Regions from separate parts of the Homo sapiens genome. Here region 1 is linked to region 2. The links are contacts of gene promoters, found by promoter capture Hi-C in human tissues and cell types (Jung and others, 2019). All regions are on one chromosome and are shown on one strand. Each heading gives the region's core, a stretch centred on a gene start or on the middle of the fragment in contact. The rest is flanking DNA. Distances are from core to core; before and after follow the strand shown.

The links. Contacts are between HindIII fragments. The study calls those that stand out against the background at their distance.
Region 1: a fragment that was not itself captured here is called in contact with the fragment with the promoter of DSC1 in region 2 in 2 of the 25 tissues and cell types used here (aorta and neural progenitor cells).

What each region holds. Positions count from the first base shown.
Region 1 is chr18:31,247,749-31,250,448 of GRCh38, reverse strand. LOC105372049 (a long non-coding RNA gene) reads right to left here. Exons shown (of 4, transcript XR_001753388.2): 2 at 5-125. Among named protein-coding and RNA genes, the nearest start is that of DSG1, 69 kb to the left of the region's middle. The HindIII fragment of the contact is 4,740 bases long and covers 1-2,700 here.
Region 2 is chr18:31,161,214-31,164,234 of GRCh38, reverse strand. It overlaps DSC1 (desmocollin 1), which reads left to right and starts at 1,379. Exons shown (of 16, transcript NM_024421.2): 1 at 1,379-1,703. The coding sequence starts at 1,641. DSCAS (DSC1/DSC2 antisense RNA) reads right to left here. Exons shown (of 4, transcript NR_110785.1): 4 at 1,446-1,700. The HindIII fragment of the contact is 13,832 bases long and covers 1-3,021 here.

The DNA.
Region 1 (2,700 bases), core at 157-2,656, 86 kb before region 2:
TTACCTTATTGATGTGGCCCCGTTCATTCCTGAGATGATAGCTCCTCAAGTTTCCTGCTGCTGGCTGCTGCAACAGGCCACCAAAGCCGACAGAAGCTATCCTGGGACTTCATGTGAATCTGTAACTTATGTAACAAACAGGAATAGAGAAGATTATGATTTTTCTGTATTTTTGAAGGAATTAAAGTCAAACTTCTTAGATTTCCTTCTAGCTGGTAAAAACAAGGGAACCATTTTTTGTTAAGATTTATAAACTGAAGAATTTCCTATCAATGCAGAATTCTAATTTTGACCAGTTGACACCTAAGCTTTTGAAAAATTTTTCACACATTGACTGGATTCCATTGTTTTTAAATATCCTGATCTTATATCTGGAACTCTGTCTGTACATTTTTTCTGTTTCAATTATAACTAATTCTGGCCTTATTTGGGAGAAATTGAAGAAATGGCTTTTAAGTAACTTTTGCTGTTTATTTGGTGTTTGTCTTGTGCTCAGGCAGAAAAAAACGGATGCCTGCTTTGCTCCCATGAGAAAACAACCTGATTATTTTATTATTATCATTATTTTTGCTTTCTTTCTTCCTGGAACCATTCCCTCAGTCCCACTCCACACATTTCACTCCAAACCTCACTGCCATCATGATACCTATTATGTAAAGAACACTCGTGATTAAAATTTCCCAGCATCATCTGAATTCTTTTTTGCATTAAATGACAGGTATAGCTCACCAAACACCACCTATAATACAATCAGTGGAAGAGGAAACAATTTTTACTCCATCAATAGATTATTCAATATGATGAATGATGATCTTCTATTTGATCCGTATCTTAACATATTTCTGGGCTCATTACTGATGAAAAGGAATCATCCTAACAGTATTGATACTAGTGTTGGTATAATGATTAATTTTGTGTCCACCTCACTGGGCTATGGAACACCCAGATATGTGGTGAAACATCATTCTCGGTGTTTCTGTGAGGGTGTTTTCAAATGGGATTGACATTTGAATTGGTTGACTGAGTAAAGCAGATTGCTCACCCTAATGTGAGTGGGCCTTATTCAAGCAGTCAAAGGCCTGAAAAAGGCAGACTGTCTATGAGTAAGAGGGAACTCCTTTTGTCTGACTGCCTTTGAATTTGGTCATCAGGTTTTTTTCTGCCTTGGACTCAAACAGAAACATTGGCTCTTCCTTGGTCTCAAGTCTGCTGGCGCTGAGACTGGAATTATATCATCTGCTCTTTGGGTCTCCAGCTCATCAACTCACCCTGCAGAGAGCTTGGGACTTGCCCACAATTATGGAGGGGGGCTAATTCCTTATATTAAATCTCTTTTTGGTTTTGTTTCTCTGGAGACTTCTTGACTAATTTAAGTGACTTAGTTTCAGATATACATTTCTGGCAAACAAGAATGACTTTTATTTCTAACACCATAGCCTTCCCCTGCAGGCTCATGCATGTTCATATACAAACCTCAAGTATGTGTATAAGTTTGATGCTTAGAGTCAAGAATGAATAACTCTGTGGTCCATTAGTTTTGCTTAAAAAACTTTTATGAGGCCAAGTGCAGTGGCTCACGCCTGTAATACCAGCATTTTGGGAGGCCGAGGCAGACGAATCACCTGAGGTCTGGAGTTCAAGACCAGTCTAGCCAATACGGTGAAACCCTGTCTCTATTAAAAATACAAAAAATAAAAAATAAAAATAAATAAAATTAACCAGGCGTGGTGGCAGGTGCCTGTAATCCCAGCTACTCAGGAGGCTGAGGCAGGAGAATCTCTTGAACCTGGGAGACAGAGGTTCCAGTGAGCCAAGATCGTGTCACTGCACTCCACCCTGGGCAACACAGCAAGACTCTGACTCAAAAAACAGAAACAAAAACAAAAACAAACAAACAAACAAACAAAAAACTTTGGTGAGTTATCACCCATATTGGTAATGTGAATAATCTACACTACTACTCGATAACATCCAAGAGAAAGCTGAAATGGGATAATGTGCAAAAGATGCTTTGGTATTGTTTATTCTCATCAATATTACCTATAGTGCTTATATCTTAGGTGGCATGAATCGAAATGGAAGCAAAGATACTGTTGGAGGTTTCCATCAATATTTTTAAAATGTAGCTGCTCATTTGTAATGCATTGGTCATGTTGATAGAGAATATTTAGAGTATGTCAAAGTGCTAACCAGTTTATTTGCCATTCTGGTTATGTATGTTTTCTTCAACAGAGGTGAGGGACAAATATCTCTGACTAAAAACAGGGAAAACAATAATTATAGTTGACACCTGCACGGTTCCCCTTATCCCATACCATTAGGAGAATATATGAGTGTTTAACTGAGGTAAAACAGAAGTGGAAATACGTTTAGAAACGTGCATCACCACTATTACACAATAGCTCTAATTGCTCATAGAGTTTGATGTGTTTCTTATTGCAAAAGGTCTGAGGGCATCGTTTGTTTTGTCTGTTCTTTATGGGTCAGGAAATAGTGAGAAAGGAATTGAAAAAGTTTGGCTTCTCAGAGCTCACCCTGAAGAGACTATCTCTAGAATGTGAGGTCATTTCTTATCTGAAGGGTTGGTTTATTTCCACATCCATGAAATGTCATTTTCTCTGCAGACACTGCCAATTTAAATTTATTTTGTGTGTGATGTAGACAGATGTCTGCTAGGAGCTGGGCTGAGGCCATTAACAC
Region 2 (3,021 bases), core at 130-2,629:
TTCTATTTTCTAGGGTTGGAGAATTTGTCTTTGAATTATTTAAGCTGTATGACTATCTATTTATCTGTCTATCTATCTATCTAAATATATACTTAGATGATGCTTAAACATGCACAGAATTACACTTGGCTGTACACATATACATCTAAGTAATTTTTCTATTTCTATATTCCCATTCTTTTCTCCCAAAACGCCAGATATAAAAATATTCCATTAAAATGACTGTATTTTCTGATTGAGAAATCAAATTCCAATGCAGTCACAAAATATGTTTATTAGTGGGTATACCACTAGCAATAAAATACTACAAGATATCTTTTAGTTTTTTTTCTCCTGGGTCATTCATTTTCCAAATCTTCCTAGCTTCTAATTCTAATGAAGCAGTTACATTTATTTCTGTCTCTACATACAAGGAGAAATTGTTCCCATTGTCAAATAAGCTGAAGAAAACCTTTCTTTCCTCCCTTCTCAGCAGCATGGGTGTTGGGCTCTACCTTAACATTTGAAAATATTTATCCTTCTGTCCTAACTTCCATCACTGCCATTGAGTGCAATTGGTATCACTGAGCTCACTAATTTGGGACAGGAATAATGATGCTAAAGCTCTTGTTAGAGGAATCATTAGGGTTTAAAAAAATCTACACTTGATGGCCTGATTGTACTATTAAGCTAGGATATCCTATGTGTAATGTACAAGTAATTAGGGTGAATAGAGTGATTTTAGAGAGACTTGCTCTCAAAGATTGTAGTTGTCCTTGAAAAAATATAAAGGTAAAAAGCAGTGGCATCTTGTACAACAAAAGGAAAGCCACAAGAAAGATTATATGCTAGCTATTTCTTTATTCTCTTTCTTTTATGAAGTCTTTACATTCTGATAAGTTTCCTGTGACATCTAGAGAACCAACCACAGTGAATAGTCAATAACAGGAAGTAGATACCATGCCTTTATGAAGTTGCTGCTTTAAACTGGAATGCCAGTTCTCTAGCAGAACTACAGTGTTCTACAGGACCGATGACACTTAAATGCTTAGATGGGAGATAACTTCTGATGAGTGTGATTACACACGCTTAGGTCCTCTGATTTGCCAATGGCAGTTGAGGAGGCATCACTTCCTTGCATGGCGTTTGTGCACAATTTATGTTTGTACCCGAGGGCAAGACAGGTTAATAAGGCCAAGAAGGAGGGGAGGCTGTGGGAGTGGGTAATAACTGGGGAGGACTTCACAGCATCAACCTGGGGGAAAGGGAGGAGGGCTGAGGATGAAGGGTGTTCCCTCCTCCTTCTGCCTATGTGTTAAGTGGCAAGAGAAATTTTGAAAGCTGCTGTGAGGAGGAGCTACTGACTGGGTTTTGGGGTGTTTTGTACCCCACCCTCCTCACTTGTAGGAAAGCCTCTTTGCATTTAGACGTAATTGAACTGGAAGGAAGGAGACTGGCCAGGGAATAGGGGGAAAGAAATTCTCCCGTTGCTCCTCCTACTGTTTATCACTTGCCTCCGGACTGTCTTCCAAACCAAGCTCAGCTGCATCAAGGTGGCAGCAGAATACCCTGTGCAAGTGCCAGCGTCTTCTTAGCCGCTCTGTGCATCCCAGGCTGCCCTGTTATCTGGCCACCGTCCCTGGCCATTGGGACTGCTTCTGATGGCTCTGGCCTCTGCTGCCCCAGGGAGCATCTTCTGTAAGCAGCTCCTTTTCTCTCTCCTGGTGAGTAACAACCAAAGGATTAGGGAATTCAAGCATGTTACTACCTGCTTCCTCTCTGCAGTTTGGGCTTGAAAGAGACTAGGAGTGAGGATGGGAGGCAGAGAAGAGAGATTGGGGAAAACAAAAGCAGATCTGAGGAAGATTCAGGGAAGAGTTGAGAGGCTTGGGATTCAGGATGGAAAGTGTTCAGCTTACTTCTCAAGCACCCACTGCCAGAGTGTTAAAAGTTTTCAAGGGAATCCCTCTTCCATCCTGCTGTGGTGATTTTCTAAGAGTAGAGAAGTGAATTCATTCTTTAGGCATTTGGCCCAGAAGTTTCTGAGGTTTACTTCTGCTACCAGTGATTACATAAACTCATGTTATTTAACATGCTGAGTTCTACTAAGCTGCAAAAAAAGAGAAAGGATTCTGGGTGAACATGCAAATTATCCAGGACTTTTTGAATTTTACCCACGAAGCAGTTTAAGCAAAGAATAGTTTAAGAAAAATAACAAAAATGTGACTGTCATTGAAAATATCCTCAACTTGGCTTCCACTTGGGTTTTTAATAGCTTTGTAACTGTGTAAGGTGCTATTTTTTCTTTGGAGGTGAGGGAAGAGAGGGGGGTTATTTCACACATCCGTCCATCATTTCTGAGGTGTGAGTTTCCTATTTTTTCATTTTAGCAAAATACTTGAGTTTCAAAATATATTTTTAGAAATGGCAGGTATGAGGACAAACATTTTCTCCATGTAAATAATATACAATGCAGGGTTGATGGTCACCTTCTCATCCTGTAACTGCTTAGGGAGACGATAACTCAGATACCATCTTAAGTTAGTACAAGTTTGGTAAAATGTGGTAAAAATGTTTCAAAGGATTCTACCCACATTTCTTTTGCTTCTGATCCCTGTACTGTCTAATATCTCTTGGACAATTCATCTCCTGTTTATTTATTTCTGACTCTGAAACTGACTAAAAGGGTGTCACTAAGCCACTTAGTCAGTGATTTAACCTGAAGACGGGAATAGTATTTAATGAATGGAAACCTTCAGTGGCTCTGCCTGCAGAGGGAGGACCATCAACATGGAATCCTAGGACAAGAAGGAAAGAAGATGGGGGTGGGAGTGGAAGTGTGGATATAACTATAAGAATGTCTCATATATTTATATATATATATGTACATTTATATATATATACACACACGCACATATACAGTCATGCTCTGCAAAACAATGCCTCAGTCAATGATGGACTACATATATGAGTGGTCCCATAGATTATAATGGAGCTCGTCTGTATAGGTGAACCATTTTTTATCTTTTATATTGTATTTTA